2 separate regions of the Homo sapiens genome follow, and region 1 is linked to region 2. The links are contacts of gene promoters, found by promoter capture Hi-C in blood cells and fetal thymus (Javierre and others, 2016). All regions are on one chromosome and are shown on one strand. Each heading gives the region's core, a stretch centred on a gene start or on the middle of the fragment in contact. The rest is flanking DNA. Distances are from core to core; before and after follow the strand shown. Region 1 overlaps POMT2 (protein O-mannosyltransferase 2). Region 2 holds the start of ZDHHC22 (zDHHC palmitoyltransferase 22).

Region 1 (6,986 bases), core at 4,487-6,986, 150 kb before region 2:
GGTCATATTTTATCCAATTGGGGTTATAAAAACTCATTTGTGAGAGTTCTCTACTTGTCTACATAATTGGCATAATTGGACGTATATAGTCTCTATCCTGGGAGCATTTATTTTGCGGCCCTGGTTTGAATTCTGTCTCCCCAACGCATAAGCTGTGTGACCTTGAGCAAATTACTTAACTTCAGTTTCCTTGTAAGTAATGTGGGGATAACCATAGTACCTATGGCATAGAGCTGTAATAATGGTTAAATGAGATAAGACTTGCCCAATGCTTAGAACAGTGCCTGGTAATAAATGGTAGCCATTTTCAGCATCAGCATTTCATGAGCCTTTTCCCATGTTGCTAAAAAAATGCTCTGAAACATTTTTTATGGCTGTATAATATTCTATCCCAGGACATACTATCATGTTAACTATTTTTCTATTACTAGACAGTCATACTGTTTCCAGATTTTTTGTATAAAACGTGAGTTAAATTCTAGGACAGGATATCTGTGGAGCTTTTTCGTTTCATTTGGCCACATTATAGAAAATATAATAGCATGAATTTTTCATTTAGAAAGTTTGAGGCATGATCTTAATTACTTTTTTTTTTCCCAAGATAGAGTCTTGCTCTGTTGCCCAGGCTGTAGTGCAGTGGCGCGATCTCAGCTCACTGCAACCTCTGCCTCCTAGGTTCAAGCGATTCTCCTGCCTTAGCCTCCTGAGTAGTTGGGATTACAGGCGCGTACCATGCCCGGCTAATTTTTGTATTTTTAGTAAAGACGGGGTTTCACCGTGTTGGCCAGGCTGATCTCAAACTCCTGACCTCAGGTGATCCGCCCACTCTGGCTTCCCAAAGTGCTGGGATTACAGGCATGAGCCACCACACCCGGCCTTAATTACTTTGAAAATGCACTTAAATCCTCATTCTGTTTTTGTGTTGGAGTCAGTTATATAAGGCCTCATGGTTCCTCCCTCTAGAAGGCTGGATGGAACTTTTAGGACAAGATGCAGAAAGATACAAAGAAACAAAAAGGCTCTTGTGGGACAAAGCTTCTAAATGCAGAAGGAAGGAGAGAATCTCACTCACCAGTGCTACATATGAGCCCCATTGGGAAACATGGCCCCTCAGGTTGGTGGCTGGGGATTCTGAAATTGGCTTAAGCAACATTGGTTTGAGGTTGATTGTCCTTGGCCAGCTGTGCTGATAGTGATGGTATTCTCCCTCCTGCTTCCTCTTCCCTCCGCCCCCACCCCCCACCCAGGTCACCACCTATTTGCACAAGGACTACAACAACCTGTGGATTATCAAGAAACATAACACAAACTCAGGTAATGTGGTCAGAGACTGATGCTTCTTGTGCTGTTACTCCCTCTGAGCCCTCCTTAAGATTTCTCATGCCTGCAAAAGAATGATCCTGAGATGGGCTTTGCTGAGCATCTTTGACACCTTTACTTATCTCAATTATCCTTTCAATTATTATTTATTAAGCACCTACTGTGTTCCAAGCACTGTTGTTGGCATAGGGGATAAGCATTGAGCAAAACAGGTAAGAACTTGCTCTTAGAGCTGTCATTTTGAAGACAGATAGCGGAGCCCAGATTTAATCTAAGTAGAGGTTACTTGAGCATGCCACTAGGGGCTGGTGAGTGGCCCCAGCTGAGGGCACCTGGCTGCTGCTCTCATTTCTTACATAGAGCACACCAAACATTGCACACTCTAGCATGTGGTGCAGCTTAAGTCGTCTTGATAAGATAGAATCCTGCCCACTGCTCAGCCCTGGCCTGAGTCAGTCAGTTGATCTGAGGGGCTACTAGTCCTGTGACTGGAATTTGTCTAGGCTAATTCCTGAGATGTGACTCGATGCCTGCTGATCTGCTTCTAACTGGCCTGGGTGAAGGCGCTCTGAAGCACACCTATCAGGCTCTCAGGGCTTTATGACAGAGCAAGAGCTAGAGCCAGATCTTCCTTTCTTTGGTCAGACAGCTAGCTACCTGCAGGCTGTGCCTCTGCTGCAGCTAAGAGAACAGAGGGCATCTTCCACTCACCTTCCGAGCCTGTCATCTCTGCTGACAGTCCTGTGCCACAGGTATCTCTGTGACTCCTCAGCAAATCCCACCTGGCTTAGCCTATCCCAGCTCAGCTGCTCCTAGGCCTTTGTAGAGAAATGGGCAGCTGCTCACCTAAATCCACCTCCTCTTATTGCTGTGTAGGCTAGAAACGTGGCGTATACAACCACTTTCTACATCCTGCTCCTTAGTGGGATAAATTACGACACCATTGGGCAGAGTCTGTTTCTATACTTTTATAATGGATATTGATTGATTCAGCAGGCCAAACGTGAGTGTTCTATCACAGTGAGGAGTTACGAGGGAAGACCAGTTTTACTTCCGTCATGTGGTCATGAACCAAGTCTTTGAACATTCCTAGTCTGTTATTCCATTGTGACTTCTGAGTTAAGATGGTTGCATTTCATCGAAGTGATTAAGGATTTTGTGGGAGCTTTATAGACTAGGGTCTTTGTGTTCTTGAAGGCTATAAATGCCCCTCCCCACCAAATGCATATGAAATAAAACCTCCCTCCCTATTGACTTAGTTGATTTGTCATCTTGCTAATTAATGCTTTTAAGAGACCCTAACAGGCAGCATGGAAATGGGTGTCTCTGCGGTTGAGTTCTCTGATTCTCTTGAGAGCCAGTGATTTGCACTGGCAAATTTATCTTTCCTGACCTTGATCAATTTATAGTGTGTTGGTATCTCACTGTTTGGGACAGAAATTTGCAAGGATCCATTCTGTGTTGCTATGATTACTGCCAGCTCCTTTTCCATGTCATCACCTTTCTAGATCCTGATTGGTCTTGATTTTGAGATGATACAGAAGTAGTCCTTTAATCATTTCATCATTATTCACCTCACATTTAGCAAGTTTATTGCCAGAGACAAGATACTCGCTGGCAAGATTGTCAGGGTTTATTTGATTTTGAGGAGAGTTGGGCAAGTGGTCATTTGTATGGAATTACTTTTTAGAAGGCTGTTATTACTACTAAAGTCTTACTATTTAGCTTCCCAGCTTAAGCTCCAGTGGGGGCTTCAGTGCCTCATCGGGTAAAGGCCACATTCCAGCCTGGAATATGCAGTCTGGCCACACTCGTTCATAGCCTCATCTGTTCCCACTCTCCCCCACCCCACCCACCCTTACAGTATGAAACCCATTTGCTATTCATCGAAGGAGTTTTTCTTCTTCTTTTTTTTTGGAGACAGAGTCTTGCTCTGTCACCCAGGCTGGAATGCAGTGGCGCAATCTCGGCTTACTGCAACCTCCGCCTCCCGGGTTCAAGCGATTCTCCTGCCTCAGCCTCTCGAGTAGCTGGGACTACAGGCGTGCACCACCACGCCCGGCTATTATTTGTATTTTTAGTAGAGATGGGGTTTCACCATGTTGGCCAGGCTTGTCTCGAATTCCTGGCCTCAGGTGTTCTGCCCGCCTCGGTCTCCCAAAGGGCTAGGATTACAGGCGTGAGCCACTGTGCCCGGCCAGAAGTTTTCTTCTTTCACACTTCTAGTGCCTTTCTCCTGCTTGTTCACCTGACAAAATTCTCCCTTTCCCTTAAGAGTCTTTTCGAGCATTATCTCTGGGACACCCTTCTCTAATACCCTGAAGCAATTTAGGGGTCTTTCCTCTTTGGTCTCAGAGTACCTGGTTAGTACCTCTAGCAGATACCACATGGTACTATAACTGTTTACCAGTAGGCCCTTGATTAATACTAGCCTGGTGAGTGATTTTGGATATCAATGCTTGTTTCTTTTTGGCAGATCCCCTAGACCCTTCCTTCCCAGTGGAGTTTGTAAGACATGGAGACATTATTCGACTAGAACACAAAGAGTAAGTCAATTTGCAGTTTGGATAAATAAATGGTACGGGCACCAAGGGGAGGGAGTTATTTTAAGAAGTAAACAGAAGTTAGATTTTGATGAGGCTCTGGTCAATGGAGCAAGGCCACAGTGCGAGAATGGGAGAAGCATTTTATGAAGGTGATGAAATTGCAGGCCAGCCTTTGCCTGCCTTCTGGGGACCTTTCAATTTCCCATTTCCTAGAGGAAAATTTGAGTTGCTGAAAGCTGCTGCTGCTGTTTTTTTTTGAGACAGAGTCTCACTATGTTACCCAGGCTGGCCTCAGAGTCCTGGGCTCAAGCGATCCTCCCGCTTCAGCCTCCCAAATGGTTGCTATTACAGGCATGAGCCATCACACCCAGCTCCCAAAGCTTCTTCTTAAGTGGCTGCCTTTAGAAAGACGTAGGAGTCTGTTTCTGAGAATATGGCAAGCTAGCTTATTTAACCAGTGTTCTCACTGAAAATGACTAAAAATGCTGGAATAATATAAAGACTTCTTAAGAGCATAAAAAGGCTGACAAGATATTAAAGAGTTACCAGGCCAAAGCCTAAGTGAAATGAGGAATCCAGAGAAATAAGTGAGACACTGAAGCCACTTTTGCTTTGATCCCACAATCTTGACTTTTGGCTGTCTCTTGAGAGAAGAGGTTTTAAAGTCAAACCTAGGCTCACCCAAAGTGGTAAATTTATTAAGTTATCCTTCCCCATATTTGGAACCCCCAAAGGCTTGGGGTAAGGGTAAATCTGCCCTATCCACTTATGCCCAGGTCCACTTTAGGACCCAGCTAAGTGTTGGGGGTTGGGTGGTGAACTGTCCTTAGTTCCTGAGAAGTTGGAACTACCATTTGATCCTCACATGAACTTGGAGCTCAAATTCATGTTGCCTGGGTGATCTCAGAATCTCCAAGACATGAATTTAAATGAACATGATCCTAGATTGGTCGTGTCTCCTAGGTGCATGGCTAAAAGCAAATGTAAGCCCTCTTTGGGGAAAGTCGTTGTCATTTGTTCCCATAGTTTTTTAGTGACAATAGTACACACCCAAAAGTAACAAAGCACACAAGGAAATAGGGCACTGTGTGCAAGAACAAGCTGAAACGACAGACAGCAGGAGCAGCCCCGTAAACATTTCATAGACTGGAATTATCGGATACAAATTTTTAAAAATCAGAGGTGTGTATGTGTGTGGGTATATATATATATATATAGAGAGAGAGAGAGAGAGAGAGAGAGACAGAGACAGAGAGAGAAGCAATTAGCTATGGTTTTTTTTTGAGTCAGCTGGATTTTGAATACTTAAAATTTTTATTTTATTAAATAAATTTCATTTGTCATTAATAAAAATTTATTGTAATTAAATTTTACTTTTGCAAATTTTCAGAAATTTTATAATGAACATTTATTATTTGTTCCAGATAAAAGTGAGAGTTGTTATATAAAACTAAATAAAAGCTAAATTAAACCCCTCTCATCCTCCACAGATGTCCACTTAAAAAAATCTGGCGATGGGAGCAGAAAGAGTAAGTGGCAGTGAGGAGGTTACCTAGCTCAGGCCATGCAGATTACAAGTTTTAATTTTTCCTCTCCTCAAACCTGCCTCCTAAGTCAGGCAAGCTAAGTGCTTCAAAGCTACTAAATGTGTGAAAGTCGCCCCCCACCTCCCTGCCAGCACCTAAAGTTAGCCCCTTTCTTGGCATGCCGTCCAGTGCTCCTACCATCTGTCTCTCCTGGTTTGGGCTCATCTCTTCTCCAGTTCTCAGGATATTTCTTGTGAGTAAATAGGAAACCAGTTCCTGATATGTTGGATTTAATAGTTCAGATTCTAATTTTTCTTATCCTGACAGTTGACTCTGAACATCCTTGGTAAAAGAAGAAATGTTGCACATCATCTTTCTATAGGATAATGACACTTCTCTTTTCTAACTTCTAGAACTTCCCGGAACTTGCACAGTCACTATCATGAGGCCCCCATGACCCGGAAGCACTATCAGGTCACCGGCTATGGCATAGTAAGTAAGCAACGGGGATGTGAGTAGGACGTAAAAGTTATGGGCCTTGGCTCAGGGCTGTGTGGTGGGATATCTCCTCCCCAGAATTCTGGAATGTTCCTGAGGATAAGAGGCTGCACAGGGACTCTCTTAACATTTGGGCACTTTTTGGCTAGGCCTGCTCTGGGAAAAGCAGCCTATGAAGTCTGTTTGTCTCCATCTCTCTCCTCACATAATAACCATGCCATTTACATGCTCTGATACTTAATAAATGTCAAATATGAATACTATTTGGATCTCTTTTAAAATCACATTGGACATAGAAGCCAAGGACCCACAATATGACCCCAGATGAACAACATGTATGTTTATCTTTTGCCAGATCCCAAATTCTCATTAGCTTTATTTTTAAGTATCATTTCCCTGTTCTGCAGAGGGATATTATCCATAGCTTTTGTATTTTACTACCTCAAGGAGATGCAGCTAATAAATAAAAGCTCTATGAGTACTTATGGCTTTGGGAGTAACTGAAGACAAAAACTACTAGTGGAAAACTGTATACAGATTCTGGCCTTCAGGTGGATTTCCCAGCCCTCTTTCTGTTTGCTCATTCCACATTGTGCTAGGTCAAGACTGTGAACATTCTAATCTTCTTTGTGGGCATCTTCTGAGAAGAATTAGACATACATGTCTTAATTTCCAAAGTGCAATAGCCAGGCCAGACCTTTCTGGCTTAGATGAGTGAATACCTAGATAGCCAAGGTAATGGATGCAAATGGCCCAGATCTGTTTCTGTTGGCTCAGAGTGATGTCTTGAGTTTGGTTGAAGGGCAAAGACAGGTATTTAGAACTTGAACTCTAGTTCTATGAAGTGAAGAGTTGGACTCCTGGACTTCTGGTTCCAGGAGTCATACTACTGTTTTTTGGTTGTAATAGTGAGTTTTGGGACAATGCCAATCACCTGGGATATTTCTTTGGCCTTCTTGTAACCTTGCCCATCTCTATCATTGAGCCTAATTTGGTCTTTGACCTTCATAACATGGTGGCATCTGGGTGGCCATTTCCCTTTCTGACACGTTTTCTCTAAAGTCCCCTCACTTTCTTTGTATTTTTTTCTTGGCTT
Region 2 (6,171 bases), core at 3,182-5,681:
CTGCCACCGCTTCCACAGGGCTGGGTACTCGCTTGTCCACAGGCACAGGCGTCCCTACCAGGACTGCCTAAACGGTCCCTGGAAACCATGGCTAATTGGTGAAAGAGCCCATTGGTTCATTCTTCCACAGCCTGGATACTGCAAAAGAGGCTCTCCCAAGCTAACCCAAGATTTCCACCCTGATGCACCAATCACCTGGGAGACCACTGGGTTTACTTGTCACCCAGACCTGTAGTTTCTACCTTGACATGTGAGCTTGGAGGCTGAGCATACCTGCCCCTAATCACACACACCCCCTCCAGCACGACAAACAGCAGAGTGCCTGAGGGCATTTGATTAATGTGCTGCAGGCTTACAAGTTTATGCATATTATATTTATTCATTCAACCAATGTTTACTGAGCACCTACTACTATGTGCCAGACACTGTTATAGGCACTTGGGATATAGCAGTGAATAAAGCAGTTCAAATCCTACTCTCACGGAGTTGAGAATTCAGTGGGGAGAGACAGACAGTAAACAGACAAATATATACCTGTCAAGTGGTGATAAAAGTTGTTGAAGACAAAGCAGAGTAGACAGGATGCAGAGTGCAGAGCACAGCAGTTTTAGGTAAAGGGAGATCCTTCAGGTCTGTTACTCTGGGGGAGTATGTTACATACCTGCTTCCTTTATGCAACTGACATGTTCCAGAAAAGTTAAATATCGATGAGATATGTTTTGCATATTAAATCATATTTCAAATCAAACATAGTCAAGCCTTGCAAATTAACATGCAGCAAATCTCTGAACCTCAGTTTCCCCATAAGGAAAATGGGTTTGATAATTCTCACCCCAGCTAGTTTGTGCTGTTGAGAGAGATTCATGGGATGAAATTTTAATTTTGTGGATGACTTTGTAGCCTGCAAAGCACTTTATTACATCAAAGTAATGTTATCGTTGTTAAAATGAAGACATAGTTAGCAAAGTAAATTACCACCTCCAAATAGAAACTCTGTGATAATCCAATTTTCATGTATTTAGTTGGCTAAAATGAAGATTACACTTGCATGTTTTCCAAATCTGGGCAGGCAGGGATGGCATCTTTGTAAGCCTTCCCAGGCTTGGGAAACACTCTGTGGTTATCCCTGGCTATGATCTGCTGTCAGCGCTAAAGAGCATCCTGACCCAAGCCTATCTTCACCTTGATCTATCTGAAATAAGAGCATAAGAATGAAAGAAAACCACCACCAGCCTTCTTAGGTGCAGCTCCTTGCATCTTGGAATAGTCTCCATCCAAAACATTTGGGGCATTATAGGCCTGACAGACATGGAGGCGGGGTTACTCACTCAAGGCAGAAGCTGCTTGCTACATGGATTTCTCTCCTTGTAATACAACACTCTGAAGCAAAGTGGAATAATTTCCACTTGAAAGGGAATTCATTTTATTCAAATAACACCACCAAATAGCAAGATTGAGGGCGCATATCTCCAGGAAAGGGCTGGACAGCAATGAGATGCTTATCTGTGCCCCTGTCCCCATGGGACTGCCTGCAGGTACAGTTATGGCTTAACTATAGGAATCTACAGCAAGAGCAATGGAGAGTGTGGTTTATAAATCATTTCTGTCACTGTTTATGGAGGATGAGATTAGAGTCAGGGTGGGTGGTGGCAGGTTGCAAGATCAATGGCAAATGTGTCCTCAGCAGATATTTCTCTTTGAGACAGAGTCTTGATCTGTCACCCAGGCTGGAGTGCAATGGCATGGTCTTGGGTCACAGCAACCTCTGCCTCCTGGGTTCAAGCGATTCTCCTGTCTCAGCCTCTTGAGTAGCTGGGATTACAGGCACTGGCCACCACGCCTGGCTAATTTTTATATTTTTAGTAGGGACGGGGTTTCCCCATGTTGGCCAGGATGGTTTCGGACTCCTGACCTCAGGTGATCTGCCTGCCTCAGCCTCCCAAAGTGCTGGGATTACAGGTGTGAGCCAATGCATCTGGCCCTCACCAGACATTTCAAAGACCTCAGAATATAGCTCTTCCTTTCACAGACAGACCAGTAGCAATTCATCGATCAAGAGACTTTTACTCAGTGTCAACTCTGGGCAAATCATCCTATTAGGAAATATGGAAGAAACCCCAAAACATTTCCAACATAGGCAAGGAGCTCTCATTTTAGTTGGAAAGTGAAGAGAGTCCTGTGGTTGAAAAGAGGAGCCCTAAAGATGTGGGAGACGCTAAGGTGCTTAAATTACATGATCCCATTTGATCATCATCACCACAAATAACAGCAGCATTCTTATTCCCATTTTACCGATGAGAATACTGAGAGCAGAGAGGTTAAATGACTAGCAGCTCATGGTCACACAGCTGGTAAATGGCAATAAAATGCTCATTCTTAGTCTGCTTGACTCTCATAGGGCCAGAATCCAAGTGAAGTTTTCATATTGATTTTGCCTCCCTATTGATTTTGTCAGGGATAAGCATAAGTTTTAGAAAAACAAAATGACATTTGCCGTGCTTCCCTTCACTCCATTCCTTAAGGGGAGCTGAGGAACCACTAGCTTTAGATCTGAAGCTGTAATGTCCTTTTCTGTTGATAAACGATATTTCTAAATAAATAATCGTCCTTGTCCATTTGTGTTTCCACGACCAGATCTCCTTTTCCTGACTGAATACTCCCTTCCCCCACTAACATCTTCCCACGTTCGCTTAGCTTCTTTCTCTCTTTCCCTTTCCTCATACACACAGATTCAGACACACACCTTCCCACCTCACACCCATATGCAAAATAAAATTAGAAATACCACCCGACTCACAAGGTATTTGGGGAATGGAGATCTTCAGTCAGTATACCCAAACCCAAGCACCCCAGCCAGCCTCCCTCCCTGCCAAGCCCATGTGAGAGGCAGACAGAGCTTGTGAAAAGGGGCCCAGACGGCCACGATTATGAGACAAAGCTGCTCTGAAGGGAAAAGGGCCATGTGTGCCTCCCCATGTCTGTCCTGTGGCCACTGGAACTCACAAGGCTACCAGCTGCTCACGGCCACCATGTGGCATATACTGTTCTTTCACTTACATGTCAGATCCTTTTAGAATGTGAAAAGGTTTCCTGGCCTCTTTTTTATTTTGATGTATGCTGATAAATTACAGAGGAAACAGTGTGTGGTTATTCAAGAATAGAGGCTGAGCTGATCAGCATATGGCCCTCATTTCAAGGGATTGCTCTTGTTTTAATCAGCCAGTTGAGAAAGCAATAAATGTTTATTTATTAAGTATGCCATCACCGAGAGGAGAGGAACAGGGCAGGTAGGTGAGCTGCGACACCCAGGAAATTGAGGATGGTGATGGCACCAATATTCCTGCAGTGTTTGATGTTTTTAAGGCTCTGCTCCCCCCACCCCCCACTGTTTGATACACATTGGTGTCACTACCCTCTTGGCGCATCACAGTACCCACCTTAGAATAGCGGAGCCCTGGAAGGGGAAGGAAATAGAAATAAGAAGGTGGGGGTGAGGCTCAAAGAAGAAGCTCCAAGTTCAAGCTCTGTGTCTGGATAAACTCCCATTGTCTTTCCTTCTCTCAAATCAGAGCTGCCCGTGGGTCCCAGGGTGATGCTGGGCTGTGTAGAGGCTGAGTGCAGGAGCATTAATGCTAGAACCAGGTTCAAGTCCAGGCTCTGTCACTTAATGGCTGTATGACCTTAGACATGAGACTTAGCTTCTCTGAGCTTCAACCTCCTCATCTCCAGAATGGGGCTCAGCCAGCTTCACAGATCAGGCTGAGAGGATTAAGGAAGCATCTTATGCTAAAGGCTTAGCACAATGCCTGCTACCTAGTAGGGGCCCGATAAGTAGTGTCTAATTATGATCTAATCAAGCAGTGCTTGCCCTGGGCAGGCCCTGTTTAAGGGTTTTACATAGATTGTCATTTAACCCTCATATCTCTATTTCACAGATGAGGAAACTGGAATCTAAGATCACACTGGAATTTACAGACGAAGAAACTGGAATCTGAGATCTCACAGTAGTGAATGGTGAATATTCAAACCCAGGTAGACAGGCTCCAGAGTCCCAACTCCCAACCCTCTGTACACAGCCCTTCCGAGGAGATGACGCTGATCTTCATGGGTGTTGCCCTGGCAAGCTGACCTCTCAAGCCCCCAGGGTTCCTTCAGTCCGAGTGGAGAGCAGGGAAGGTCGTGGGACCTAGCCGAGAGGGAAGGGCAGGATGATGGCTGGAGAATCCACATCAGGGCTGAATCCCAATCTCCCAGCTGGAACGGGCGCTGAAACCAGGCAGGGCGCCCCAGCCCGCTCAAGGGGAATCGAGAGGGGAGGAGGGGGCAAGTCCACGATGCTGAGACTGGCGGCCAGAGCACCGCCCCCAGGAGCGGAGGGAGGGGTGGCGGGGCTGGGGGGTGCCCAGCTGCCATCCCCGCCGCTTCCTGGCCCTTACTCGCTGGCGCCCAAGTGGGAAGCCAGCAGCTGCCCGCTCCCTCCTCCCCACATCCCCGCTACTTGCCCAGTTCCCGAAGCGAAGCGCAGGCTGCGAGCCAGCCGGGCCGAGTCCACAACTTTGCAGCCTCGGGCAGGGCGAGAGCCGGCGTCCGGGGCTCCTCTTGTCGGCGACCAGAGCTCGGTGAGTTGATTTCCTCACCCCTCTGCGACGGCGGCAGTGCGGCGGCGGCGGCGCGGGGGGCGGCTTCCCGTGCGTCCGGGAGGCAGTGGCCGAGAAGCCCGCGGCTGCCGGCGCTGCCGGTCTTTCCAAGGCTCCGGCTGTGCCGCCCTCTGCCGCGGGCGAGGCGGGCGCCAGGGCTGAACGGACAGCTCCCTACACCCCGGGGCCCCACGGGCGGTCTCTGCTGTCCCTTCTCCCGCGCAGGGCCAGGGCTGAGGCTGCCTGCCGAGCGCCCCTCACTCCCCTAGCCCCTGTCCTTCGCCGCCTTCCCAGCGCTGCGGCGCATCTGGCTGCTCCCGCGCCCCCCTGGCGACCGGCGCCGGGAAGGCACTTGCTTCGCCGGAGCCCCAGGCCGAGGGCTCTCTGGGGTGGGCAGCACCGCCGCAGCCCCCGGCGGCGCAGGACTGGGGGCGTGCCCAGCCCCCGGCGACCACCCTCAGGCGTGCACTGCGCTGCGCCCCAGCGGTAGGGAGAGGCCCACGCTCTCCGCGGAGGCTGCGGGTTCCCGGGGGGCGCTGGGACCTGCAAAGGGGATTCCAAGGTGACCAGTCGACCCGTGCGGACGGGACAGCCTGGACGGAGGCCCCGTGGCATCCACCCATCCTAGGTGCAACCGCCTTCCCAGAACTTTTCTCGCGCCTCCGGCTGGCCGATTCCTTAGCCCCTGGAAAAGTTCTCTCGGGCGCACGGAATCCTATTTCTCGGTGGCTTCCGAAGCTGGCCAGGAACCCCGGCTGTGAGGCGTGGGGTGGGATGGGGACGTGGTGAGGGCTGAGCACGGCGGCGGGGTCGATCCCAGGAAAGGCTGGCCAAGCATCCACTCGTGCGCCCAGGGCGGGCTTGTCGGCATGGAAAGGATTTCGGCGCCATGAGGGTTGTTTGGGTTTCTCTCAGCAGGAGGGCGGGAGGCGGGCGCGAAGGGGGGATTTTAATTTCGCCTCAAATGAAAACGCTCTTCGCAAAGAAATAGCCCGGGCAGCCAGCGTTGGAGAGATGTGCTGGCCAGGACCCGCTGACACAGGTATTCTGGTTGCGCCCCCACCTCACCCGGTGCCCGAGAGCGAGTGTGAGTGTATCGATTGTTTCAATTGATTTTTTTAAAGCTAGATAGCAGAGGCTGCGTGTCTGTACACGCAGATATATACATACACAAATACAGATACTCAAGCGCACACAGATTACACGTACAGAGTCACAGACAAGGACACACACACACACATCGTGGTCCCTCACGCACACATACCTCCAAAGAGCCTTGGGTAACCTGGTGAGGTCCCTGAGTGCTGCCCAAGATGTGTGTGTGGGTGGGGACGCAGGGACGGAGAAAGGGGAGTGTGAAGCAGGATTTCCAGCAGGTCAAGTGCCGCTGATTCTCCTGCCCCCGACCCCAAATCCTTCCCTTTCTCCTCCTAGGGAGGTCTGAACCAGAAATCCCAAACCTGGGCTTGTTTCCACATCCACAGAGGGGAGGAGTCCTATCCCCCGGTGCCCCCCACCCTCACAACTCCTAAAG

The links. The method cuts DNA at HindIII sites, captures the fragments that hold promoters and counts their contacts. A CHiCAGO score of 5 or more calls a contact.
Region 1: a fragment that was not itself captured here is called in contact with the fragment with the promoter of ZDHHC22 in region 2 in 1 of 17 cell types (erythroblasts); the score reaches 5.3 in erythroblasts.

What each region holds. Positions count from the first base shown.
Region 1 is chr14:77,285,642-77,292,627 of GRCh38, reverse strand. POMT2 (protein O-mannosyltransferase 2) reads left to right here. Exons shown (of 21, transcript NM_013382.7): 10 at 1,248-1,314; 11 at 3,797-3,866; 12 at 5,806-5,884. Among named protein-coding and RNA genes, the nearest start is that of NGB, 18 kb to the right of the region's middle. The HindIII fragment of the contact is 2,976 bases long and covers 4,249-6,986 here.
Region 2 is chr14:77,140,051-77,146,221 of GRCh38, reverse strand. ZDHHC22 (zDHHC palmitoyltransferase 22) reads left to right here and starts at 4,431. Exons shown (of 3, transcript NM_174976.2): 1 at 4,431-4,619. RefSeq lists enhancers at 4,317-4,818, 4,913-5,476, 5,477-6,040. The HindIII fragment of the contact is 23,253 bases long and covers 1-6,171 here.